Regions from separate parts of the Homo sapiens genome. Here all the other regions are linked to region 4. Evidence: promoter capture Hi-C in 16 types of primary human blood cells and fetal thymus (Javierre and others, 2016). All regions are on one chromosome and are shown on one strand. The core of a region is centred on a gene start or on the middle of the fragment in contact, and the rest is flanking DNA. Distances in the headings are between cores, read along the strand shown.

The links. Contacts are between HindIII fragments. The CHiCAGO score rates a contact against its expected background, and 5 or more counts as called.
Region 1: a fragment that was not itself captured here is called in contact with the fragment with the promoter of ITPRIP in region 4 in 1 of 17 cell types (monocytes); the score reaches 6.1 in monocytes.
Region 2: a fragment that was not itself captured here is called in contact with the fragment with the promoter of ITPRIP in region 4 in 1 of 17 cell types (neutrophils); the score reaches 5.7 in neutrophils.
Region 3: a fragment that was not itself captured here is called in contact with the fragment with the promoter of ITPRIP in region 4 in 1 of 17 cell types (M2 macrophages); the score reaches 7.2 in M2 macrophages.

What each region holds. Positions count from the first base shown.
Region 1 is chr10:104,110,565-104,117,395 of GRCh38, reverse strand. No RefSeq gene overlaps it. Among named protein-coding and RNA genes, the nearest start is that of SFR1, 8.2 kb to the left of the region's middle. The HindIII fragment of the contact is 3,064 bases long and covers 2,006-5,069 here.
Region 2 is chr10:104,576,531-104,583,481 of GRCh38, reverse strand. The region is part of intron 1 of LOC105378464 (a long non-coding RNA gene); the gene reads right to left. Among named protein-coding and RNA genes, the nearest start is that of SORCS3, 61 kb to the left of the region's middle. The HindIII fragment of the contact is 1,619 bases long and covers 2,370-3,988 here.
Region 3 is chr10:104,556,862-104,563,741 of GRCh38, reverse strand. No RefSeq gene overlaps it. Among named protein-coding and RNA genes, the nearest start is that of LINC02620, 80 kb to the right of the region's middle. The HindIII fragment of the contact is 4,146 bases long and covers 2,394-6,539 here.
Region 4 is chr10:104,333,535-104,341,000 of GRCh38, reverse strand. ITPRIP (inositol 1,4,5-trisphosphate receptor interacting protein) reads left to right here and starts at 2,536. Exons shown (of 2, transcript NM_001272013.2): 1 at 2,536-2,755. It also overlaps a transcript of CFAP58 not described here. RefSeq lists enhancers at 616-910, 3,659-3,858 and a cis regulatory region at 1-1,393. The HindIII fragment of the contact is 4,481 bases long and covers 1-4,194 here.

The DNA of each region.
Region 1 (6,831 bases), core at 2,288-4,787, 220 kb after region 4:
CTAACCAGAAATTTTCTGGCTCACGTCAGGAGCTGAGAGCTAGAATGAAGTTTAATCCCTTTCCCACCACTCTACCAATCAGGAGAAAACACTACGTCTCCACTCCCAAAGGCAAAGTAACATTACATTAACACCATCAACCTTTAGGAGCAGCGTCAAACCTGCTGAATGCAGAGCCCCTGACCAGAACTTCTGAAGCCCCCGTGAGGACCAGGTGGAGAGGCATGATCAAAGACGGGCAAGGTGGCTTGAGCAAAGACACCTCTTCATGGATCCTCTCCCTTCCACCTGCAAGATTGTGTCGAGTGCTCATGTCCCCCATACTGTGTCTAAATTATACCACTTGTCAGTGACAGCAACATCACTCAGCTCTCCACCTCCATGACACATCTGTGGCTACCCACATATAATGTATAAAGTTTGATGATGATGCTGGTGATCCTCAACTGGCAAGTGATATTATTACTTTTTGATACTAAAAATATGTCTTTCTTACAGATACTAAAAATATGTCTTTCTTACAGAAATAGGATCTTGGAAAAGAAGTATAGAATAAAAAATCATTCACTCTGACATAGTCCTCTAAGATTTCACCCAGCTATTTAGACTTTATTAGCACAAGATTAAGACAGATAATACTTTTCCTTCAACAATGTAAACCTTTAATTCAAACCTTTCCAAACTGTCCCACCCCACAAAGTTTCCCCTTATGTTCCACTCTGGTTGTTATATCATCTATCAAGCACATTATCTAAGCTATTTTTCACTTGATTTAAGTACCTACCTCTGAGTCAACTTGTCCTCTTCTTACAGCCACTTTGAAACCTTTCTTTTATTATTATTATTTTAATCAAGAGAAGGGTGATTTAAACAATTGTTTTCTAACACTCCCTACTACATGGGAATGATGGCTTAATATATCTCCATTTTACTGTTTACTCCCTTTCTTCTGCTCTGGTATGACATGAATCTACACCCTTTTATGAATGCTGGATATTGAAAACACACCTCTGTTGCTGAAGGTCTGGTGTGAAGGGAATTCATACTAAGCACAGGAATAACACCCACCAGCAAAGATGGTCTTTAGGATGGTCAGGCTTTTGGAGGCCTGTCATTTGGCAAACAGCATCCCATGATACCAAAGAATACAGGTTTGGGTTTTGGAGGCCAGGCAACTAATTACGTCCAGATTTGTTAAGCAAATTCCTATGAAACTATGAGGTACCGATAGGTTAAAAAAAAAAAAAAAAAAAGCAAGCATTACTACAGGTTGGCATTGTCTGAAATGCTTTCCTAGTCTAACTCTGGAGAATTAAAATAGAGATTTTAAACCTGCATGTACAAGTTTAGGATTTTTGTAAAGCTGCCAAATCTTTAATGTAACAATAATTAGCATAAAGCTTGTGTAATTAAGTTGCCCTGAAAAGAATGAGTTTGAATCTTTTGCAAGATGTCTCTCTTATTTAAAAAAGCAGTTTTACCAGTATATATTATTTTCACTCAGAGCTGTTTCCCACAGGTTTTGAAGAGATGTAAAGCTGACTGTGTTTTATTTCAGTAATTGTCTGCAAGGATAGCAGTTTATTTTCAGTCACTAGTTTTTGGAATGAATCAATCAACCACATTTGCCCACCAATATGTCTATGAATACTTTTCATTTTTATAGTTGAGAAGAATCAGTTTTATTGCTCCCCTCAATCTAGATAAAATTCCTTCGTGCTCAGAATGGGATTAAGTCCCCAAATCAAATGTGAGAAAGAGAAATTCAGACATATCAAGCACTAGATGCAGTAAGCCAGTACCTATAGTGACTTGATTTTGATGGGTAAAAAATAGCATGTAATCACAGGTTTGAACCACTACAGGTAAGAATTACATGGACTAATGAGAATACTTATGAAGCTGAAATTAAACATTTGCATACTAACTAACAGTTCTCAAGGCAAGTCTTAGAAACCCCTCAACTTCCAATCAATAACTGCTCAAACTGAGATTACAGGAAGCTTTCTTGGACTACTGTGTTCATAACTGAAGTCAGTTGTCTTGAGTGTTCAAATATTTTCTGCCAAGAATTGTGCAGGAGGAGAGGGAAGAATTGAGGAGGTAGGGGCAGTAGGGAAGGAAGGGAGGGAAGGGGGCTATATTTACTACATGTTTCTTGCCCTTAAGCAGAACAAAAACTAGTGTTCCAAAATGATGTTTTTCATAACAAATTACTGATTACTAGGCTTGTTTACTCCATACTAAAGTTATTCTGCAGATTTGACCTGGGTTTTAAGGCCTCAGCATCAGCTCAAACACCAAGAATCCTGGGCACGCTTAATTTGGGCTAAATTCTGACAAAGTCATGATTTCTTTCTTAATGAGAAATGTATTCGTCATGTTCTTAAGGCCTTTTGATACATTTGAGTTAAAAGGATTATGGAAGTTCAAGATTTTGTGTTTAATACAGGTATAAGCATGCATTACAGATACATGTGTACTTTCTTAGCACTGGTGGAATATTATAATGATCAGGTTAAACTTGATTATACCTTGTAACTTAGATAAGCCATTTCACAGTAGGTGAAATTTTGAATGAGTAAAGCCATAAAGCCACAGACCTTACTTATTTGTTTTTTTTTTTTTTTTTTCATTCCAAATCTTGTCTTTGTTGAGTTTTTTTGCTGTATGGAGTCAATTGGGGATGAAATGGGCTGTGGTCACAAACTGTGAAGGTGAGGTTGCTTAAATCTGTACTAAACATGAGATAATCATGGGTTGTCAGTTTAAATTGAGGAAAATTGGGAAGTCTTTGGAATTTTTGTTTGAATACAAGTTTTGGTGAATAAAAATGACACTCATTGATGTTTACAACATTTTTCTCCAAGTCATTCATTCTCTTGGAAATATGGCTGCAGCAAGGGATAGGCCTGAGTCAGAGCATCTGAGTTATTTACTGACCCTATCACTAAAAACTAACGAGCTGTATTGACTTTGGGGGGTTCAATTCAGTTTTCTCATCTATAAATTGTGAAGAGAAAAGTGATCTTTCCCTGGCTCTGAGTTAGTTCCTACAATTCCAGGTGGGGTCATTTTGGTACACCTGAAATTACCACTTCCCACCAGAGTGTTAAATGAAGTTACGGGTAAAATTCTCTATAGAAATAACCATTATGATAATATGATGGAAGATGTATTAGGTGCTGTAGACGGAAAAATAAATATATTCTTTAGGAGTTTACAAATGGACACCAGTATTTATCACATTGATTAAACCAGAGCCAGCTCTGGGAAAAACTAGCACACAGAAGTTTTTGTTTTTTTTTTTCCAGTGACCTTTCTTTCCTCTTCGCAGGCCTCCCACATTATCCTAATCGAACCCTTTCAAGCCCAGGGTTTTAGGCTACTCTCATCAACCACCTCTTGCCATTGCAGGGCATACTCCAAGTTATTTTGCTTACTTGTACTGTCATCTTCTGGAACTCATGTCCCTGTCTTTATTAACACTGGATGCATAGAGTTGGTGCTCAATAAATGTTTTGAATGGGTGAATTTCAGAATGAATTGATTAATTATTTAATCAGTAATTCAGAAAGTGAGCATCCCAAAATAAGAAGAGGAAGTGATGCTGTAGCAGTCTCCAGGGAAGAATATTTTTGATGCAACTGATACCTTGTGTAACAGCTTCTCTAAGGGGAAAACTGTTCCTCAAATCTAATATAAACCGTTCAGCTGTATGTTTTCTAATTATTTCTTATCATTGCTTTGTATTGTTCTGTCATTGGACCAAGGAAGATTACTTTTACCAGACTAGAAACATACAGGAAACATGTGGTTCCTTTCCAGATGATGATATTGGCCATCTTTGAAAGTGGTGCCTTTGTTCACAATGGGATGGGTTTTAACAGCTTTGTCTTTTCTCCCCCTTACCCAAATCTTCTGTGAGAGGTAGTATAATTTTTAGTCTGTGTAGCCAGGAAATAGAGTGAAAGTAAATTAAGTTTGTGGAAACCAACCATAACTTCAGCCTAAGGAAAACAAGTCAGATATTACAGCAGGAAATAGATATATGTTGGGTGGTATACAAAGAATACTAATTTTTATTCCACAATGCATACATGTATCAAAACATCACATTGTACCCCGTAAATATATACAATTATTATTTGTCAATTAAAGTAAAATAAAAGTTTAAAAATGAATCCTGATTTTATTAATTCTGCAAACTGTGCTGTATACCTGTAGTACAACTTCTGAAAAAGGTGGAGAAATGTGCATCCTTTCAGGGATAACATAACAAGGTAAATAAGTTTAATTTTTTTATCTGAAAAATTGAGGTTACTATTTGATTTTCTTCATTTCTCCACTTTATTTGCCTGCATATGTCCTGTCTCTCACTCCTCTTCAACATCACTGCTGCTGTTCGAGCTCAGGTCCAGCCTGCCTGCCTGCAATAGCCTCCTGACTGGTTTCCTGACTTCTGGGTTTTTCTTCCACTTTTCCTATACCATCCCATTTCTCATGCCCATCAATTCTCTACACTGCTGCTAGAAAGATCTTTTTAAAGATATTAAAATCTTCCAATAACTCTCAATTCTCTTTAGGATAAATCCAAATTCCTTACCAAATCACTCATGCATATCTTTCCAACTTCATCTTGTGCCACTCCCTGCCACCCACCCTGCACACCAGCTTTACCGAATTATGTGCTTAAAATTCCCAGAATGGACCAAGCTCCTCTCCTTATCATCTTGCTACTTCCTTCTGCCTGGAAGACACAGGCATGTGTATGTGTGTGCGCACACACACAAATGTACACACACATATGCTTTCATCACCTGGCTAATGTCTACTCCAATCTCAAGATTAGGACCTTGTGTCAAAATCCCCACTCCCTCTCACTTGCTTCCCAATGGCCCACATTCTCCTTTTATTCTTTTCCTCCTCAGAATCTTCTGGCTAGAGTTAGATGCCTTTCCTTTTCCATGGTACCCTGTAGGTGTCATAATACATATTTACCATGAGCTATTTGAGAACAGGAACTGTGTCTTTGATCTCTATATCTGCAACCCCCACAACAAAAAGCTTAGCAGATTTTTTTTGGGTTCAAGCAGAAGATGAAGTGCTAAGAATACACAGGGAAAGTCCTAAGGGAGTTCAGAGAAGATTGAGTCAAGGAAGACTTCGTGGAAAAAATGGTATTTGAGTTGTATTTTATTGTCGCCACAATAATCTCGATAGACTCTTTTCGCTTTTCAATCAACATTTTTAAAAAATTGTTAAAACTAACTCTGTAAAATATATTCTATAAGTATACAAACCTGGTAACAGAACACAGATCTCCCTTGGGTGATATAATAATAGATTTATGATTGAGAGGTTTTTAAACACTTTCCTAAGGGCTGATTGACAGGTATATATAACATCATAGGTTGGTATTTTCCACTCTTATTGGGTCATAGAGAAGAAAGCACAAGGTAGCAGTTAAGGGAATGTACACTAGAGTTAGACATACCTGGATTTAAATCTCAACTCTGCCCTTATAAAGTCTATTGATGATAATCTCCCTAAATGTTTCCTCATATACTAAACGGGGTAATAATATCTACTCCATTAAATGTGATGCTGCAAATAAAGCGATTAACACAGAACTTGGCATATAGTGACACTCAACATAATGGTGGTGAAGGTCGTTGTGGTAGAAGTGGTGGTTACCTTGAAGCCAGGGATGGAGATAGGTGGATGGGGCAGTACAAGAGAGAGATGCTTGATGACAGTTTTCTTATCTCTTTCATTTAGGCACAATGTCTCAAATTGTGCTCCAAGGGCACAATGGTTCTATGAACTGGTCTAAGGTGTTTCACAGGTAAAATAAAATTAAGGTGATATTTTCCAGGCTTGTAGAAAAAATTAAAAAGAAGTAGAATGTTTTCTATTTTAATTTTTTTCGATGTCCTTTCCTTAAAACTTTAGTGTCTGCAAGTGGATGACAGCAGATAACAGAATGGATAGTTTACAAATAAATATTAAGAAGAAAGATCAGTAAACTGATTTATTTAGTTTTAGTTTTTGTTTTTTTGAGACAGGGTCTCACTCTTTCACCCAGGCAAGGCTGCAGTGACACGATCATGGCTCACTGTAGCCTCAACCTCCCAGGCTCAAGGAATCCTCCCACCTCAGCTCTCCAAGTAGCTGGGACTATAGGTGCATGCCACCATGTCAGCTAATTTTTTTTTTTTTTGAGACAGAGTCTCGCTCTGTAGCCCAGGCTGGAGTGCAGTGGTGCGATCTCAGCTCACTGCAACCTCTGCCTCCCAGGTCCTGCCTCAGGCAATTCTCCTGCCTCAGCCTCCTGAATAGCTGGGATTATAGGCACGCACCACCATGCCCAGCTAATTTTTGTATTTTTAGTAGAGATGGAGTTTCACCATGTTGGCCAGGCTGGTCTTGAACTCCTGACCTCGTGATCTGCCTGCCTCAGCCTCCCAAAGTGCTGAGATTACAGGCATAAGCCACTGTGCCTGGCCCATGCCAGCTAATTTTTTTAATTTTTGTAAAGATGAGGTCTCACTATGTTGTCCAGGCTGGTCTCGAACTCCTGGTCTCAAGTGATATTCCCTCCTTAGCTTCTCAAAGTGCTGGGATTACAAGTGTGAACCACCATGTTCAGCCTGATTTATTTTAAATGTTTGTTCAACATTCAACAAATATTTATTTTTTAAAAGGTTGTGTGTGTATCTGTTTTGTAAAGATTCATACACATGTAATTTAGTCATTTTTCTTGCTAGTATTATTGCTCCTAGTTCATTCAACAAAACCAAATATGGCTGCATTTCATGCTGTTCTGCA
Region 2 (6,951 bases), core at 1,930-4,429, 240 kb before region 4:
GAATGTTTTACATGGTGGCAGGCAAGCAGAGAATGAGAACCAAGTGAAAGGGGTTTCCCCTTATAAAACCATCAGATCTCGTGAGATTTATTCACTACCACGAGAACAGTATGGGGGAAACTGCCCCCATGATGCAATTATCTCTCACCGGGTCCCTCCCACAACACAAGGGAATTATGGGAGCTACAATTCAAGATGAGATTTGGGTGAGGACACAGCCAAACCATATCACCTGCTTTCTCCAAACTGATGACAGCCCCATCTGATGTTCAGGTGTCCAAAACAGCTCCTACCCTTGTTGAGAGTGTGCCCATTAACCCATCACCCAGGTGGCACCAAGGAGTACCTGTCTGTGTTCTCAGCAGGCTGGAGGAGGCCCTCCAGTCACCCTCCCCTGAGGGGTCAGTTCCAGATTCCAGGAGACAAGCAGTGAGCACAGTGAGCAGTTTTCCTTCAGCCTCTCATCATATCAGCTCTCCTCCAGAACAGCTTAGGAACAAAACCCAGGGTGATCTGAGCATGCCCTACCAGTCTCCCTCATGCCTTCCACTTCCAGCCAGCCATGGACCAGCTCACTCATAGCCCTCTGCCTCCCTCTCGGGTCTCCCCTTCTGGGGAGCTGCTCTCTGTTCCTGCAGCTGCCTCAGCAACTCCTGGAGAGTGGTTTGTAGCCAGCACCTACAATCGCTCAAGACGGGTCTGCCCTGAAGGCCCATCCTCACAGCAGGTGCAGGGGAGGCTGACTCACCCATAACTCCCGCTAATTGAGCCTCTGCACTCCCCTGGTTTCATTGGGTTCTGAGTAATTATGAAAGGAAGACCTCAAGCCCTTGCTGTGGAGTCTCCATTGGCTGGTGAGTTGTGAATGGGGAGGGTCTTATTGATCAGGTTCTTATTGGAGCCCTGATTTCTCCTTTGACTGAAGGATCTGTCTCAGGAATGGCAAATATAGGATTCAAAGGCTGCCTCTCACCCCTCCAGTGCCTGAAACAGACATCACTCATGGATCTCAGCACATTCTCCTAGCTCAGTATTCTTTCCTGCACTGCACTCCTGGCAGCCGCTATGACGGTGGCTGGCACTCAGTGGGTGACCTCACTGGCCTCCCTGCCTGGGTGTGAGGTGCTCTACCATATGCTGCCTGGGATCTGCACATATGAAGGCATGATTTTTTTTCTTCCCTCAGATAATCTATTATTTAGTTGGGAAAAAAAACAAGATCTGTTGGGTTAAAATGATTTTTTTTAAAGAACTAGACATTTGGGTTGACTAATGCTTTTTTTTTCTTGAGGGAAGGAAGGCTAAAGTATAGTGGTGTAACCAGGGATGACCAATACTTAATGAATGCCTGTATGAGGCAGGATAAGACGTAGATTTTTCCCTAATGGTAATCAGTTAAGAATGTGGGAGACACCTTGGAAACAGCGACTGAATCACACAGACCCAGTTTAAATTTCAGCTCTACTACTTTGGAGCCACGTTACCTCCTCTTTCCTAAGTCTCAGCTTCCCTGTCTATGAAATGGGAGCAACAATATCTGAAACATAGGGCTGATGTGAGTATTAAATGAAAAAAAAAAATGAAAGTGCCAAATTCCTACCTGTAGCCCTGGCCTCTCCCCTGAGCTCTGACTTGTAAATCCAGCTGCCCGCCAGGCCTCCCCAGGTGGGAGCCTGCAGCATCACACACTTGCCATGGCCGAAAGAGATGCCAGTTCCCTTCTGAGCCTGGTCCTCCCACAACCCTTCTCCTCTCATTCAGTCTCACCACCATCCACACCCCAAACCTGAGGGTCTCTTGATTCCCCCCTTTCTCACTCACATTGCCGGTATCAGTCCACTAGTAGCCCTGCCAGTCCCAACTCCAGTGATGTCCTAAGTCCATTTGCTTCGTTCCATCTCCACCAAGGCCACTCTAGGCTCTCTGGACTTTGCAATGGCCCCTCCCTCTACTGCACCCACACCTGTGCTCCATGGCCTGTTCCTCACAGAGCATCCCAAGGTAAGACAGGTCACACTACCCGCGGGCTTGGACTCCTCATGGTACTTGGAATAAAACCCAGACCCCCTTCCGTGACCTCCACAGTCCTACCGAGGTCCTACTAAGCCTCAGCCTACCTTCCATACTTGACGTCCTGCCACACACTCCGTGAAGGACTGATTAAACAAATGCCTGCTTAATATGCATTAGTCTCCATCTTCCTTTGCTTTCTCGAAGAAAAATGAAAACATTCATATGGCACCTCAGGGTCCTGATAGGGATCTGAAGTTTACCCCACCTTGCGACACTTCCCCACCCCCCTGATCAATGGAAAAATTAGGGTCATCGCCACCACTGCTAGTCACAGTTTTCTACCTGGGGCTTAAGCTTTGTCTTCCAACATCGTCCGTTCTTCTAAGTTCACACTGTTTTCTTTTCATTGTGCACCTATGTGCCACCACACCGCAGAAAAAGCAGGCAAAGCAAGACCTGCGGAAGTAATGAAAACTCTTTGGTGCCCCCTTGTGGTCATGTCTGGTTAGCCGGCGGAGACGGGACTGTAGGCTGCTCTGGCGTCTCTGCAGAGCGGAGCCTGAAACTGGAATAAGAAGTCTTTCCAGGTGCCAATCTTAGAGATGTACATCCTCCACCCCCAGGAAGAGGCATCCAGGTAGAAATGCTTGACAGTCAACTTCTCTAAGTCTCAGATTCCTGATTGTTAAAATGAGTATAATGATTCCTTCCCAGCCATCCGAGGAAGGGTATTGTGAAGCTATACCATGAGATCTGTACTTTTTCTGTTGCTTTAAAAAAAAAAAAAGTGTATTCCAGTACTCAATCTTCACAAATTCTACAATGTTTCTCCTGCCTCTGCACCCCTGTCTGTTCCTACGAACTTTCTGTAATCCCCAAATGAGTCAGGCAGGATGGGAGTGAGGACGTGCTTGAGATAATGTGTCTGACAAAGAGGTGCCATATGCTGCTCGGCGTCATACGAAAATGTACCAGAGAAAATGTCAGCGGCAAGACTCGGCAAGTGGTGAGGCAGAAAGTGGGGGTGCTGCCATCTCCTCCCCCCTCACACCGCGCCGGGAAGCTCGAGAGCAGACACTGGCTTCTGGCATTGACAAAGGAATGGGAGGCCGGGTGAAAAGTCAAGTATCTGTGATTACGAAAATTAACCCTAATCTCCTGAGTTTCCAACTCTTTTAGAATTCCTATCTGGAAGACATTCACCTTTGCACCCAAGCCTACCGAAGTGTTTGTACCAAAGAGGTACTTAATAAAGAGGCAATGTATGAATGAATGAGTTAATAAATGAGTGCATAAACCTGATTTCAAGGAAAGGTTGGCGACGTCTACAGCCTCCCACTCTGAAGCTGCTTGCTTGCTTTCTATTTCTTTTTCTCTTTTTCTTTTTTTATTTTTGGAGTCTCTGTCACCCAGTCTGGAGTGCAGTGGCATGATCTCAGCTCACTGCAACTTCCGGCTCCAGGGTTCAAGCAATTCTCCTGCCTTAACCTCCCAAGAAGCTGGGATTACAGGCGCTTGCCACCGCACCTGGCTAATTTTTGTATTTTTAATAGAGATGGGGTTTCACCATGTTGGCCAGGCGGGCCTCGAACTCCTGACCTGAAGTGATCTGCCTGCCTTGGCCTCCCAAAGTTCTGGGATTACAGGCGTGAGCTACTGCACCTGGCCCTGAAGCTGCTTACTTTCTAGCCCTACCCAAGCCCAAGGACACTGTATCTGTCTCCTGTAAGGCTCAGCTTTTTCTACATGTCTTATTTTGAGTACAGTAAAAAAAGGATCATGGCTGATTTTGTCATAAATGCCTGGATCCTTTAAATCCCTCTCTCTGCACAGCTAATTTTGCATTGTCTGCTATCACATGGTTTTAATCTGATTAAAGAAAATCTGCCTAACAGTAACAGTGAAAATGGACAACTTTTTCTTCCAAATAAGTAGTTCTTAACTCTGGCCGACCATTACAATGGGCTGGAAAGCTTGTACACACATAAACACACACACACACACATACACACACACACACACACACACACCTCAACAGTCAGGCCCCATCCCAGACCTATTAAATTGAAATCTCTATGGCTCAGGACCCGGGCATCGGCATTTTTGAAATCTCCTTAGCTTATTCTAATGTGCATCCAGCGTTAAAAACCCCTTCCAAGAATGCGCTGGCCTTTGCCCAGAGAGCACAGACTCACCAATTATAAATGAAACAAAAGCAAGATTTTATGTTGCCTCCTAGGCACCCTCAGGCCCAAGCAAAGAAAAAAAGGAAGATTCTCAAGCCCAGGAGTGATAAAGAGTTCGGTGTTCACTCCTTCTTGGATATCTTGCTTGTTAATGGCCAAGAAGGGGAGGGGACCCCAAAAAGCTGGATCTGCCTTGACCAGGTTAAACAGAGAGAGCAATTTGGGAGCAGGTTCCAGCAGATATGATGGCGTCAGCATAGGCTTCAGTGTGGTCGTGACAGTGCAGTCTGGCTTGCGTCATGGCGATGGGGAAGGGAGGGTGGGTGTGGGGGCACTAACTGGGTGGAAAGTGGGCTTTCAATGCAAATAGCCAGACATTCAGGGGATGCTGCCTGTGCATAAGGAACCCACTGTTCATTTACAATTATGCTTTCAAAAGCCACTCATATATTTCACACGCGGCACATAAACCTAAATTCAATCTGCTACATTGTAATTTCTTGCTTTTAATTTAAGGCCTCGGGGCTTTAGCTAATTTAAGGGACAATCTGGTGATGAAGAGGAGACCATCTTTTTACAAAAAACATCATTAGCATAAGGCACTGCTCCCCAAATTTAGAGCCTAGTGGTGACTTTCCAAATCTTACCTGTACTTGAAGAGCCTTCTAAGCTCTGCACCTTAACCACATAAAATAAAGTCCATCTACCAGGTAGCAAATCATGGCAATGTGCATCTCTTATTTTCCACCAAACCGTTTGTTCATTTAAAGTCTCTGCACTCTTAAACATTAGATGGCAGCCTTTGAAATTGCAGAATAAACATGAGCACGATTCGTCCCTTTACTGGGCTCAAACAGTGATCTGAGAGGCGTCCTGGTGGTGCTCCGAGAGAACAGCAGTCCTCACTTCATCAACAAGCCCCAAGCTGAGATCAGAAGTCCCACCCCAGGCTCGGGTACCAATTGCTTGTCACTGACAGACAGGAGTATCGACAGACCGGTCCTTTGTGTCTGATGGAAACATGAGGGAGACAGGCTCGGGGAAGTGAAGGCACTGGCTCAAAGGGAGAGAACGCTGACTGGAGTTTCTTGGGATTGCATCAGCCAGATCCAAGCAAGTGTTCTGAGCCTGAGTGTCCCACACAGGGCAAGGCCTTCAGACAAACTTTTGACCATAGCGAAAAGTAAGTTACAGTCACTGACACTGATTTTCTGAGAGCTCATCACTGGGATCTACTGCACAATAGCCTGGACTTTCAAAAAGCATCACTTCCCTTTGTCTCGCCCTCAACTCCCTATCCTCACCTACTTCCCCCTCTGTCCTTCATAAGTGCCTGCCACATAGAGGACACTCAATAAACATTTGTAGCAAAGCTCCCAAATCGCAAATAAGCAACCCTCCATTAGAAAGCTAACCCAGGCAGGGCGCGGTGGCTCACACCTGTAATCCCAGCACTTTGGGAGGCCAAGGAGGGCAGATTGCTTGAAACCAGGAGTTCAAGACCAGCCTGGGCAACATGTCAAGACTCTGTCTCTTCAAAAAATACAAAAATTAGTCAGGCATGGTGGTGCACACCGACTACTCAGTAGACTGAGGTGGGAGGATCATTTGAGCCCAGGAGGTCAAAGCCACAGTGAGTTGTGATGGTGCCACTGCACTCCAGCCTGGGAGACAGAGACTCTGTTTTAAAATAAAAAAAGAAAAGAAATCTAACCCATAAAACAAGAGAGAAAGAAATCCAGCATACATTCTGTTCTTTTATGGGAAGATTTTTTGTCCAGATCGCTTTTACTCACTGTAAGCACTCAATCTTAAACAATCATAAACTCCCTAAAGAGTGAAGAAAACAGGCGTTGCTGAAGCACTGTCTGCACATGGCTGAGTGGCCCTGAGGCCCCAGAGTGGGGAGCAGAAGTCTTGGCACCGCCCTTGTGATTAAACGGTTCAGTGAGTGAAAGCCTCCTATGTGTAAGTCCTGGTAATTCTTCCACTTCCTTCTTCTATCAAAGAATGGGATTTAGTGAAGAAATCTCTAAGACAGGAAGACAAAGATGAACAGGAGGTGGTCTCTACTTTGGAAGAACTAACGTGGAGATGGAAAAGATGGGTGTTTGTTTATTTGCTCAATAAAGCACCTACCGAATATCTGCTGTGTGCCAGGCACAAAACAGACACGGTCTCTACCACATCAAATTTAGAATTTATGGAAACACAAAGGAATCCACTCATCTCACAGACAACTGTGAAACTGCTTCTGAGGCAAATGCGAAAAGGGAGATGTACCCGGTTAGAAGCACCCATGACAGGCAGATGGAGCCAGGTAAGAAGTGTCCATGACACAGAGCTGGGGCCCAGTGAGAGGTGCCCATGACACGGACATGGGGCCTGGCCAGGCTCTCAGCAGAACCCCAGGCAAAGGACATTTGAACAAAGGTCTAAAGGATGAAATGGAGAGAATGTGGTGAGAGGGGTTGAGACAGTGTTCCAGGCAGGGGGAACCATCTACACCGGAGCTTGGGGCACTATGCAGGGGCCGCCAGTGAGGCAAGGAAAGCTGGTGAGACCCTGGACCCCGAAGGCCCTCACAAGTCTTGTAAAAGTAGTTGGGGATTCTCTCCTAAGGGAATAATGTTAGGTTTTTATTGGTGGAAAGGTGCAGAAGTGGGGATTGGAGGTAACCTAATCAGAACTGTTTTTAGAAAAGATGACTCTGCTGCTTGGAGAGTGGATGGGAAGAGGCCACAATGATGTG
Region 3 (6,880 bases), core at 3,217-5,716, 220 kb before region 4:
ATCAGCAGAGACCATCTGCCTCCCAGCAGGGATTTTATCAGAAAGCATTTCAACTTTTACCAGTTCAAAGATGGAATTTCATCAGTTCAAAGATGGAATTTCATCACCTTCAAATATTTACTTAATTTATGTACTTATTTTGTTTACTGTCTGCCTCCTTCACTAACATATTACCTCCAAGGGCCAGATATTTTAGTCTATTCCTTCACTCACAGGTGCCCAACCCTTGAATGTGCCTGGTACACAGTGGGTGGTCAAAAATACTTGTTGAATGAAATTCTACAAGATCTTTTCTTTTAGGCTTTTAGAAAAGGCTGGGGTAGAAATCTGGAACATTTTTTCTCTCTCCTCTCCTTCCTGGTTTCTCATGAAGATGACAGCTAATTAAGAGTGATGGGGAGTTGATTGACCAACAAGGCTCTGGCTTGCCTGGGTCTCCCAGCTTCTCATCTTGTTGGATCGCTGGTGGAGTTGAGAGATAAGACCCTCCATGAGCATCACCCCTTGAGAATCACTAAGCCCCTCCACACAGCATCACCAGGTCCTTAGACCATCCTTTGGGAGACATAAGAAAGGGTCATTCCATTTTACAGGAAGGCATTGGGGAGCCCTCTGTGTGACATGAGGGAGCTGAGATCAGAATTCACATCTTCAACTGCTTGCTCAAGACTGTCTCCATGGCCAGAGAGAAGCACCATTTCTCCCTCATGAGGTTGCATTTTAAAACCCTAATTTTCTACCTCAGCAGGCAGTTTTCCCCAAGCTATTTTAGGAACAATAGAATACAAAAGCAGAGGCTCGAGTTTTCTTCAAAAAATGTTGGTTGATCAGCCGTTTTGTTGAATGTCCCTCTATTTGGGTTTGTCTGATGTTTTCTCATGACTGAACTGAAGTTATGCATTTTTGGGGAAAAATACCACAGCTGTGAAGTTGTATTCTCAGTGCAATAGTCTTTAAAAGTGTCATGGTCATAAAAGACAAGAAAAGACTAAGGAATTGTTAGAGACTGCAGGAGATGGAGAAATAACAACTAAATATAATATGGGACCCTGGATAGGGTGCTGGAACCGAGAAAGAATATTAATACTGTTAGTGGGAATGTAAATTAGTTCAGCCACTATGAAAAGCAGTTTGCAGATTTCTCAAAGAACTAAGAGCAGGACTACCATTTGACCCAGCAATGCCATCACTGGGTATGTACCCAAAGGAAAATAAATAGTCCTACTAAAATGTCACTTGCACCCGTATCTTCATCATAGCACTATTCACAATAGCTAAGACATGGAATTGACCCAGGTGCCTTTATCCAACAGTGGGTTGGATAAAGAAAATGTGGGACATATATACCATGGAATACTACACAGCTATAAAAAAAGAATGAAATTATGTCTTTTGCACCAACATGGATGCAGCTAGAGGTCATCATGCTAAGCGAACTAGCACAGAAACAGAAAACCAAATACTGCATGTTCTCACTTACAAGTGGGAGTTAAATATTGGGTACACATGGACATAAGACAGGAACAATAGACACTGAGGGATACAAAAAGGGGGAAGGAAGGAGGGGGGCAAGGATTGAAAAACTGCTTTATCAGGTTCTATGATCAGTACCTGGATAAAAAATTCATTTGTACTCCAAACTTGAGCATCACACAATATACCTTTGTAACAAACCTGCACATGTACCACTGATTCTAAAATAAAAGTTGGGGAATAAAAAAAGAAAGAACATTAGTAAAAAAAACAACATTCAAAGTCTATAGTTTAGTTAACAGTATTATACCAATGTTAATTTCTTAGTTGTGATAATTGTTCTACAACTATGAAAGTTGTTGATTTTAAAAAAAAAACTACAAGAGTACAGGAAAACTCTACTATTTTTGTAATTTTTTCTGTAAGTCTAAAATTAGTTTAAAATTAAAGGTTAAAAAAATGATGCTGTGTTTTCCTTGTTCTCCCCGCCTCTATTTACCTGGAAAGGGAGAGAGGAAAAGACACAGAATCTTTCTAGCTCCTTTAGAGTTACAAAGATAGAAGCAACCAACCCTAAAGCAAAGTGGATCTGGACTGCTCCAAGTAGCTTTAGGGGCTCAGAGCCAGATGACCAGCAGAGAGTGAGCTCTTCTTGGAATTCCAAGATGCTCCATCTTGAATAGTTGGCTGAAATTCACGTTCCCATGGATTTAGTTGTATCCTGATATAGGAACATGGACAGTTGGTCTCATTGGTCAAACTCCCCATGCACATGGGGAGCCCTTGCTCTCCTGTCTGTCTGCATAGCCAATCACTCATCCTCTCTGCATGCAGGGGCCCTACTAGGCACACAGTTCTTAGTGTTTCAGAAGACTTATTCCTCCTTCCTGTCCCAACCCTAACACTGCCGAACTTAAGCTTGACATTTTCTGCCGTCATCCCAGATGGCAGTGGTGTACTCTGTGTACCACGTGTGTGTGTGCACACGTGTGTGCATGCATGCACCAATACAAGTAATTTTCTACTTAGACTGTTTAATTTTTATATCAACAAGCCATATTCAAGCTAATGTTTTGGTGATATTTGTTAAGTTGAAATCAAGTTAATTGTGGGTAGCAAAAAGCAAGGGACTTCCAACAAACTCCTATCTCCCACATCTCATTCATTCAGTAAATACGTGTTGAAAACTTCTGTGTGTCAGGCAATGTGGAGCAATGCAAATGATTTATTTCCAATCCTGCCTTCTATGGCACAGAGTAGGTGAACCCTCTTTGATGCCATTCCATGACCCATCAAGGCATCTAGTTTTACTCTCAGCCCACAGGATTACTGTGCACCCACAGATACACGGAGAGCAAAGGTTAGGATCGATGTCAGAGAGACTTTAAAGGAATGAACAAAAACATGTGGTTATTAATTGGATATTCCAGATAAGGTGTCTGGGAGGAGAATAGGAAAGAATCATGGAGTCCATCCTCTGGTCCTGCTTTTAAATACCTGAGTTCAGATTCCAGCAGGAACCCCAGATCTGACACCAAGGAGGCCTTTTCACCAACCAAACTCAGTTCCTGTTTCTTCCTGTAACAGATTAAATCTTGTACCCATCCATAGGTACAGATTAAAAATAGCAATGATTTGGGTCCAACCTGACATGTAACTTTTTTTTATTTCTGTAGGGGAGAAGAATGAGGAACACATCAGCTTAGAGACAGACCCATGGACCCAGAGAAAGCTGTCAGATCTCACCCCACTTTTGTGATATAACCATGGTGCTTCAGAGGCCATGGACCACTCCTTCATCCCCACTCCTCCACTGTCCCCCAGACCGTTTGGCCGTTTGGGTTGCAGAGCTGGGACAGTGATGATCTACAGTACTCAAAACCACTTTCCCTGGGAGCCAAGACGAGCTATTTTTCATTTAGTCCCTTAAATATCTCTGTGTATGAGTGGGACACAGCCAGCTACCTTGTTGCCCAACACGTCAGAGAAGTGGGACTGTCCCACATTTGCTCTGCTCATATTTTTAATTGCTTAATAATAGTGAGTGGGCTTCCCTCCTCCCCTCCAGCATAGCAGCGTGGGGGACTTTGACATTCAGGGCTTGATGTGTGGGCAGCAAACACAGATGAGGCTGGGAAAATGTCAGCCTCCTACAGCTTCTCTCCCAGTGAATCATCATACCATATGACAGGGCACACCTCGTATCAGGAGCACCGGGCTGGCAGTCCAGGGAGCTCAGTTTCAGCCCCAGCTCCACTACTAAATTAACTGTGTGACGTAGAGCAAGTGGCCCACCCTGTGGGAGCCTCAAGCTCCTACTGCTTTGAAACATTTAAATGGCAATGAGAATTGGCAAGCAGAATATTTATGGAATAGAGATCATGGGCACAGGCTCAGGATCCAGACCTCCTGGAGCCACTCCTGAATCCACTGCTTGCCAGTAGCAGGAACTCAGGAGAGTTACTTAATCTGTCTATGCCATGATACTCTCAACTGCAAAGCAAGCATAATAGTACCTACACAACACAGTTGTTGGAAGGACTTAGAACTGTGCATAGCATGTTGTATGCATTCAATACATGTTTGTTGTTATTATTATTCCAATTCTAGCCATCTAATTGACTATATTTTCAAAGAGGAATAAAACATGAAAATTTCCCCCAGATACAGACTTATGGGGAAGATGAATACATGCATAAAATATTGGGGAGAGGAAAGTGGGGGCTGCCTGTGATGCACTGTGTAACAGAAGTGAGTGATGATACCATGTGTTCAGCATGTGCCAGAGGATGTGCAAAGGGCTCTGCCTGCGTTCTCCATGGAATCATTACAGCCGCTCATGAGGCTGATCCCACTTTATAAAGTGGGAAGCAGTCTCAGAGAATCTGCCTTCAATCTCATAGCTTCTAAGTGGCAGAGACAGGATTCAAACCCGGGACTTAAGTTGTTGCTCTTAACTCCATGTCACTGAAGGATTAGGTGGGATTTGAAAATACGTCACAAAGGAAATGGCAGCCTAAGCCTCCTTGGTTTTTTCTTATTTGTTGAAAAGGGAGGATTTCTAGGGCAGCTCCCATCAATGCTTATTTCTTAGCAATATAGGTAAGTTATTGAACCTCTCTGAGGCTGGGTGTCTTCATTTCTGAATAACAAGAGTGCCCACCAACAGAGCTGATGGGAGTAGACGAGCTTGTAGATGTAAACCCTTTTTGTTTGCTTGTTTGTTTGTTTGTTTCTGAGACGGAGTCTCACTCTGTCACCCAGGCTGGAGTGCAGTGGTGCAATCTCAGCTCACAGCAAGCTCCACCTCTCGGGTTCACGCCATTCTCCTGCCTCAGCCTCCCGAGTAGCTGGGACTACAGGTACCCACCACCACGCCTGGCTACTTTTTTGTATTTTTAGTTGAGACAGGGTTTCACCGTGTTAGCCAGGATGGTCTCAATCTCCTGATCTCATGATCCACCCGCCTTGGCCTCCCAAAGTGCTGGGATTACAGGGGTGAGCCACTGCGCCCATGTAGATGTAAACTCTTAATGTCGTGCCTGGTGTTTGGCAAGCACTTGTCAGATGTTAGCTTGTATCATCATCTCGTCATCATCATTGCTGTCACTCTTTCTTCATCATCATCATCCTCATCATCATCTATACTCAGTTTCCTTTCAGCTGATGGTCAGGACCACCTATCAGTAAATAGGTGATGGAACTTCCATTTTCAAAAGGGCTGTCAATATCCCTTCCAAACCACCTCCTAGTAGGTGCTTGAAATGTGACAATGAAACATTTATTCCTTAGGTTAAGCATTTGTCTTATGCCTGGGGTCTCCTTGTAAATATAACAGCCACCAGGAGGAATGAAGAACACATGATGCAATACTCAACCACATTTATTTAGTCATTTGAGAGAGGCCATGCCCTAGGCAAGGAATTAAGAAGATGACGCAGAGGCAGAGGAAGGTAGCAGAAACGCCACTCCAAATGCGGACTGGAGAGTAGGGAGAAGATACAGCTGAGCGCGGTCTCCTTCATAGTTCCTCCAAGGACTACTCTGTCTCTGTCTGCTGAGAGGCTGGGCCCCAGCTTTTGGGCAGGGGTTGTATATGAGCTGGGATCTCATTAGCATGGGCCACCAGAGTGCAGAGAGGTGAGTGATGGCTCCCCTAGAACGGAGGTGTGTTTGATGTAGGTTTGTCAACCTCACCATCCTTCACCAGCACCTGCAGCCAAGATTCATATCCTCTGTCAGAGGCTCATCCAACACCCCAAGCTGGCCTCCACCAGGGTCTAATTTTTATACCCTCTCTGAGAACAGCAAGCAATCTTTCAGGTCCTGAAAATGGGAAGACACACCATAATGCTCCATTTTTCCTGGGAATTTCTTAGAGGTTGGAGGCAGGATAAACTAAGAAGAGGGAAACAGAGAGGAGGATTTAGAAGGGATGCATTAACTACAGTCTTTTACCTATTTTCTACCATTGTTGCTCATGCCATCACTCCCCCCAGCCCCATGCCAGGTTTCTAGGCAATATCACCTTGAATAATGGTATATTATTTAGTATCAGTTCAGGATACTACTCTGTCACAAGAGAAAATGCTCACCAAGAGAAAATGATGCCATGACATGCAAGATGAGATTCATATGAGGAATAAAATTCTTACATCAAGATGAAACTATTTGAATGGTTTAGTTGGAAGGTCTGTATTGCCTCTCCTTCATTTTGTGTCACCTGTGTTGCCATGTTTATATTCAATTTGTTCAGTCCCGGTTACATGCTGGGCAGATTGCTGAGGGCTGGGAGACACTCAATGCAGAGTATGGCTGAGTTCCTTCTCTAGGAGCTCATAGTCTTGAGCCTGTGACTATAAGCCTACCAAGGATAGGAACTAGGTCGTGGGTTCCACAGTGGCTGGTATACAGCTTCTCAAGAACTGTCTTTTCAGTGCTAAATTTCGGAAGCATCTTTCATACAAAAATGATGTGGAAACTAACAGGAGTGAAGTTTTTTTATTCTTTTCCCTTATCTAATCCATTCTGAAGGGAAAGGTGTTTTCCCCATTTTTCATTAAGCTTGGACAACAGTAAAGATCAATAGAAATTGGCACCATGCCCTTAGTCAGTATCACCATTCATTGTGTGGAACTAGCAAAAAGGATTCTGGGCCAGAGGCTACAAGTTCATGCTGGCTCTCTCCTAGGTCGCTGTGTGATTGTGAGGCCCCTGGGCCTCTCTGATCCTGGTGCCATGTAAAGCTGGCTCCTCTACCTGACAGATCAGGACCCGAGAGGCAGCAAGAGCTCCATGAGGCTTTAAAATCAGGGTTCTGAGCTGGGGTCTGTGGGTTCAGCTCTCAAAGCCTACAACTGAGGAAACAAAATGGTGGCCCCCAGACAGGGGTTTTGGCCCACATAGG
Region 4 (7,466 bases), core at 1,287-3,786:
GGGTTTTCATTTCTATAGAAGACATTTTAAAATTCATCCAGGGCCGGGATAAACCACAAGTTTCCTTCCCGCGACCCTGAGCCAATGGGGAGAGGGCTTTTTTCTATCCTCCTCTTACTAAAGGGCAGCCTTTCCAGGGTTCCAGCCTTAGGCAGAGATCTCAAGTCCAGATCCCTGTCTTTATAGAACTCAAGGCCTGAATAGATACTAACCCCAATCCCTGAGTGGGTACTCACCCCTGGTCCTTAGTCATTTGGGCTTATATTCATGTCATGCTTTTGAGTTCCCTTGACCTATCTCACACCTGGAGACCCCCTTTCTTCCCTTCCGTTGTTGATATATTTTATTCAGCCTTTCACTGTTCGAAGCAGGAGTTCCCTGACTTCTTGACTCCTCAAGTTCCCATAACTTGAATCTTTGTACTTTCCTATCTTTTAAAAAACATTTCTCGAGTTAGCACAGTGTTCTGTAGAAACGACAGGAGGGGTGTCCAATCCAGACATGAGGGTTCCAGGAAGACTTCCTGAAGGAGTAACTGCCTGTTCTGAGACAGGAAGACTGAGCATACAATTAGTCGGGCAAAATAACATGCATGTGCACTGGGGTGACAGTTTGGAGGAGGAGGTGGGGTGGCTGTGGCAGGCAGAAAGTAGAGTACATATGAATATCCAAGGGGAGAGAAAAAGCATATCATGCAAACAGCATATCAAAGAGCATATCACGTTCTGGGAAGCACAGGTTCCAAGAACTGCAAGGAGTTTTGTGTGGGACACAGAGTGAGATATGAGGCTGGTGAGATAAGCAGAGGCCAGTTCATGAACGACTTACAAGCCAGGTAGAAGGGTGGACCTTAGAACAGACAGGAACCAATCAGAACACAGAAGGTGAAATCATCAGGTTAAAAGCAAAACAAATATAATAAATATTCCTTATATAAATATACATGGCTGGTTAGAAATTGCTGAAACAACTTTGCAGACGGGATGACAATCCCAGAGGGCATTCAAGCACTAACCTTGGCATTCCAGCACAACGCTGAACTCTTAGCCCAAGGATGACAAAGCTCAGCCCAGCGCTCTTACTTCACAGAAATTTCCCCCACCTGCTTTGCGGAGGGTGTGAGTAACCCACCGGACCAACTTCTAGACATTTTGGAAATACAGCTCTTTCAAGACCGTTTCCCCAGATCGCCCCCACCACCTCCAACACACATACTGGCCCCCAAAATTCTGCCATAACCTCTTACGTAAGGAAAGAATTTGAGCAGCAGTAGAAACTTGAAAACAAAAGTACCCTGGGCCAAGGGCCAGGGAGTCTATTTTTAGAACATTTTCTCATTGCCTGTTTATCTTTCAGACTCAGCCAAAAAGTCTTCCAGGCGAGTGTTAAAGGAAAAGACGAAAAAAAGGTGATCTAAGACCAAATAGCAGTAGCAATGGTGATCATTTTGGACACTGTGTTCCAATTTCCCCAATGTGCCTTCACTGGCATTTGGTGCCCCCAAAGCCGCTTAATGGAGAATTCATTCAAACCCTGCTCTGCCTTTTGTACTGATGGTAGGATTTGGGCAGGTCAAAGGGAAGACAATAGAAGTTATGGATTTCATAAACTATTAAGCTCGACCAGAACGCTGCTGCTGCTCCTCCAGGCCTCAGTTCTCTCGTTTCTAACATAGGGGTAGTAACACTTGATCTACCGTCACAACAGTAACCAGAAACTACCGCGCCTGTCCCGTACAGTATCCGGTCACTGTTCTCCTTTGTGCCCGGTTAATCCCGGAGAAAAGCAACCATGCATTTGATTATCATAAAAGTCGGGCGCGGTGGCTCACGCCTGTAATCCCAGGCGCTTCGGAAGGCCGAGAAGGGAGTTCGAGACCAGCCTGACCAACATGGAGAAACACCTTCTCTACTAAAAATACAAAATTAGCCGGGCGTGGTGGCACATGCCTGTAATCCCAGCTACTCGGGAGGCTGAGGCAGGAGAATCGCTCGAACCCGGGAGGCGGAGGTTGCGGTGAGCCGAGATAGCGCCACCATTGCACTCCAGCCTGGGCAACAAGAGCGAAACTCCTTCTCAAAAAAAAAAAAAAACGGTAGTAAGCTATTTTAATCCTTTCAAGCTGCAAAAGAGAAAAAGGCTGGCGTTTTGTCTAGAGTTATATTTTCCTCCAAGAGACTAAATAGGTGGCCCCAGGAATTCCGCCACTTGTAAAACGCGCCGCAGAAAACTCTCCCCGACTGGTAAGGACTTAACCCCTTCCGCTCCGCGGCTTAGGACGACTTTTAAGGGCGTCCTCCCCGCGCCCCTGTCCACTCGCTCCAGTTTACTCCACTGGCCTGATTCCGTCTCTCCCAGTCACTCTCCAGTTCTGCCGTGCCGGGGAAGTTTCTGGGGGCTCACTGGGAAGGTCTTCCCGGCGGATCCTGGGCCCAACCACCGAAACCCACACGGTCCTCCTTAAGGAGCTTCCGGGGCCGCGGGTAGAGGCGGGTGTTTTGTTCTTATAAGGAGGAAAAAGTTTTTGTGACATCCAGGAAATGAGTAACTCTGAAGTTCAGTAGAGCCGGCCGCTGCAGGCCAGAAGGTGGGAGCCAGCGGGGGCATCGCCGCCCGCGCCCCTCTAAGTGCCGGGCCGCAAGCTCCACCGCAGCCGCCTGCAAGCAGCGGCGCCTCGGCCCTCGACCTGCGCGCAAAGCCTGTGCTGGAGCCGTCCTCCCGCGGCGGGGACCGGGACCGGGGACCCAAGCCAATCGTAAGTCCCAGGGCAGCCTAGTGTGCTGAAGGAAGAAGGGCGCGATGGAGAGCGCGAGCTCGGAGGAGCTGTGTCGGAGATGGCTGCCGACAGAGGGGGCGCAGGAGGGTGTGGGGAGCGCGGGCGCCTGCTCCTCCCGGGTGGGGGCTGACTTTGGAGACCCCCTTCCCTTAAAGCGCGCGTGCCCAGGCGGGCGTATTGTCTCCTCGCGGTCCCGCATCCTGTTCCCGCCGCGTCGGGGGATGCGTCCCGGGCGCTCGCTCCAGCCAGGGCTGCGGGCAGCTCCTCCTCGAGGCGCGCGCAGCCTCGGAGCCCAGAGCGGGACCACATTTTTGTTCCTAGTGGCCAGGTGACCCGTTACTTCTCACATCTGAGCAGAGCGCTACCGAAGAAAGAAAAGCCGGTTCGCCCTGCTCATTTGCTGCCCCCTTTTCCCCTTCCCCTTCCCTCCCTTCCTGTAAGGGAGGAATAGGCGTGAAGTTTTTTTTTCTCGGTTCATGGTAGTGAAGTTATGGGGCTGCTTCAGGCCGGATAAAATCCCCGCCGCTTCCTCTTTCGGGACTATTAGTGGGCCAGACCTCACGCTGTGCAGACTTGCTCTTGGGCTGCAAATAACTCTCTGCCCCTTCACCCCTAACCCCACCCTCAACCCCATCCCTGTGACTTTGCCATTCTGGCCGCCTGGTGAAGACTCCCGGGGCGGGACTCCCCATCCAAAACGCTTTCTCTTAAAAAAAGAAAAAGAAAAAGAAAAAAAAAGCCACCGACCAGGAAGGTAAAATATTTTACGGAACCAGGCAGGGGCCTCATTTTGCCTTTTGCCCCTCTGCTGGTATGAGAAAAGCACCCTTTCACAACTAGTAGAGTACCAGATACTGGTCTCATTTCACAAACAGTAGAGTACCAGATATTGGTCGCAATCTGGACTCTGGTCTTTTGGATCTAAATCGGGGTCGCGGTCTATTTTCTTGTTCTTTTTTTGGATATGACCCAGTGCTCTTGCCTTTTACAAACCGAGTCTATCTGACTGCCAGCTAAAGTTCATCTGTGGTTGGTGCAGTTTTAGGCCCAGGTGAGCCCTGAAAATAGAGTATCAGAAAAGTGGATTACTGTCTTTCCTCCTTACGAAAACAGAATAGGCTGTGTTTTTGAGTCCTCCCTCCAGCCCTCGTGCCTAAGTGGCTTTCATTGTTTGCTAATTCCCTGTATGTTGCGGCTGCTCTGGGCCATTCTGCCTTCGGATTTTCTCCACTTGTGGGTAACCATGAAGTAGTTATACTGACTCTCTGCTCTCCCTGGGTGCATTCTTCTCATGCTCAGTAAATCTACATTTTACGTAAGATAAAGTAAGCATGTGAAATTATAGCTATCTGTTTGGCAACAAAAGGAATGCAGTTTTGTTTTCGGTTTTGTTTTTTGCATGACTGAGTTCCCAAGCTTAACTTTTCCCTTTGGCATCCTGAGCTTGGGGTCCTAAGGTTGTATTTTCCTTTCACAGCTATCAGCAGAGACAGGTAGCCATCAACAGTTAGGAAAGAGTCTGGGCTGGGTGGCTGCCTGTCTTCCCAGAGCTTTGGGAGGCTGAGGTGGGAGGATTGCTTGAACCCAGGAGTTCCAGGCTTAGAGCTGGGATCACTTGGTTGGGATCACTTGGTTGGAGCTAGGATCGTGCCACTGCACTCCATCCGGGTGACAGAGTTCAGACCCTGTCTTTAACCTACCCCCCAATGCCCCGCTGCCCCCCCCCCCCCAAAAAAAAATAACTGGGCAGGAGAAGGTGCTTTCAGAGTCCAAGACTCAGGTTCCATGTTTCGAGTTGAGAGTCTGCCCCAGTAGGGTTGAGGTGGCACGGCAGCCTGTGGGGCTTTAATGGAGAATCTGCTTGGAAGGGGTGGGTGCTCCAAGTGTTCTGGGAGCTGAGAAGCAGGACTTTATTATGGATGACACCAGGCCATCCTGGACCCTTCTCTCATCCAGTCTTGCTGGGGAGGGGTACAGAGCCAGGAGGATGCTGAGAACTGTTCATGATAACCTCCAGGGCTGCTGCTAGCCTATTCAGTCCTTCGCATGAATTAGAATAAGGTGCTCTGTCTTGGCAAGAGGATGGGGCTTGATGCCTCTTAGAAATACTGGCCTTACTTGAGTGGACATAGCCAAGCCATATAGCTGGATAAGTGGCATGTGAGCTGGATTTATCCTCACCCCTCAGCCAGGTGCCTTAAGCAGTACACTGCCTGGTCCACCATTCACACAGCAGCCCTGATAAACAACCACTATTGAGGGCTTAACATTCGCCAGGCTTTTTTTTTTTTTCCCCAAAAGTACTTAGCCTGTATTAACTCATTTAATCCTCACAGTAGCCGTATGAGTTAGGTATTGTTAACTCCATTTTACAGATGAGGAAACTGAGGCACAGGGATGTTAAGTGTTCCAGAGCCTGGAAGGTGAGTCTTAATCACTGGGCATTCATAGACCAAGAAGCAACTTAAGCTTAAAAAGCTAGTTTAATTGGGAACCCTCGTGGGAAAGGGGGAAGAACAGTTGCCTTTTTCTTTCTCTGTCAAAGGAGGAAATACCCATTCTCAGTCCAGGTGGAGGAAGGAGGGGAAATTCATCTGGCAGGAGGCAGAGGAGGAAAGAAAAGAGGCAAGCCGGGCCTTGATGGCTGATGGGGAGCCTGGCCCAAGAATCAAGTGACTTTCCTTAATCTCTGGGCGGTGTGAGGTGGCAGATCCAGTTTGGGGCCTGGCATGAGGGTGATGAGTAAGTGCCCCCAGGTGTGGCTCAGAGGGAAACGGCGGTGGCTGCACGCAGGGTCCTGACCTAGGCAGAGAGCGAGTGGAAGGAGGTGAGACAACTGTCCTGACCTTCCAAACCCCTAATCCCCATCTGTGGTCTCTTGCTTCCTTGTTGAAGTCCCATTCACCCACAAATGCCCTTCTCAAGTTCGTCCAAGAACCCTTCCTGAAACTCCATTTCACAGTTCCATATACATGATCTCTTAGTTTCCACACCGTACAGCTGAGCGCTTAATTAGCTGGAACCGAGCATTTCACTATGTACTGTCGATAGGCACTTTAAACAAAATAGGCTTCTCATCAGTGAGGAAGTCAAGATGCCTCCTGGGAGGGGCCAGCTGGTGCCCAGCAGATTGCTCAGAGGGTGGTGTTTACCTGGATCACGTCACCTGTCCCAGGGCATGGCTCTTAGCTGTGCCCGCTCAGAAACCCAATTTCCATAATTTTCAGAGTGGTTTGGACTCAAGCTACTGATTCACCCTGAGAAAGCTCCCAGAAGAGGGTGTACGAATCAGAATGCTGGTTTATTAATTTGCAAGGAGACTTCGCAAACATCACACAGACTGAATGTCGTCTCTTCCCTGCGTCCTAGACAAGCCATATGGGAAACCAAAGACCAGAAGGTGGACTGCGCTTATCAAAGCTGGAGTCAGAACCAGGCAGGAGCAGCATGGGGTGAGGGTGGGGGACAGTGATGTCCAATAGTGCAGGGCTTTGTCTACCTCTGCGGCCCTCTCACCAGCAGAAAGATAGCTGCCAGGTAGACTGGATACTCAGGTCAGCCTGGCTATGGGCATCTCCTTGGCCAGTGCCTCAAGGGCAGTATTTCCCTGAGAAATCCTGGTAGCATTTCTCCCTTTCCTCTCTCATAATGTAGTAATTTTTTATTTTATTTACCTATTTGTTTAGTGCTTTGCAAGCATTAGCTCCCAGAGACATAGATTTGCATTTGCGTAAATTCGATAACTACTGTACAATCTCAGAGTTGTAGGGCCAGGCCATGAGAGTAAGTGCTATATGCAAATCAAGAGGATGATCCGGTAACCTGGATGGATCAATAGAAAGCCAAGCATAGAGCAAAGACACGTGGTCCCCAATCAGCATGGAGGCTGGGCCAAGGCTGGCCAGTTGTTGCATCCCCTGCGTAGGCCAGGGGGTGAAGCATTCCTAAAGCAGTGCCTGCTTCGGCTGCCTCAGGCAGCCTGCCCTGCTCAGCTGGCCTCTTTAGATTTAAAGGGCTCTTTCTGGTCTCTGTCCAGGCCCTTCATGGCTCATCTTTAATGAGCCACATCTCCAGGTGCCCAGAGCCAAGGCGGTGTGACTGCACGGGCTTTGAAGTGGGGCAGACTTGAGTTGAGTCCTGGCTCCACCACTCGGTGGTTGGGCGTTCTCAGTAGTTGGGCAGGTGCCTTGATTCTTCAAGTCTCGGTAACATCATCAGTAAAATGGGGATGACCCTCAGGGCTGTGGGGAGGGTTGACCCAGACGATGCACAGAAGGCTCTGAGCACCGTGCCTGGCGCAGACTGGAAACCTGGCCAGTGTGCGCTCTTCAGGACAGCAGAGGTCGGTTGGAGGTCTGCATTCTCTGCCGACTTGGGCCCCAACTTCCCCATCAGGTCACTGCTCCCTCCTCTGAGGTCTGGACAAAGGACAAGGCTGTAGGGACCTAGACTGTCCTAGACGGGGAGGACATCTATCCTCAGTGGTCTTTCCAGCAGTTTGTTTGGAGCTGCTCATCCTGATCTTTTGGCTGACTCTGGCAGAGGGAAAGTCAGATTTGAGGCCTGAGCTCTAACAGGCATCCAGAGAGGAAGGAAGGGTAAGGAGCTCTTCTGGGCGAGGAAAGGGGTCATTTGGGAGTGCCCCAGAGGCCTGTAGACCCCTCCTCAACAGTTTAGGACCTGTGACGTT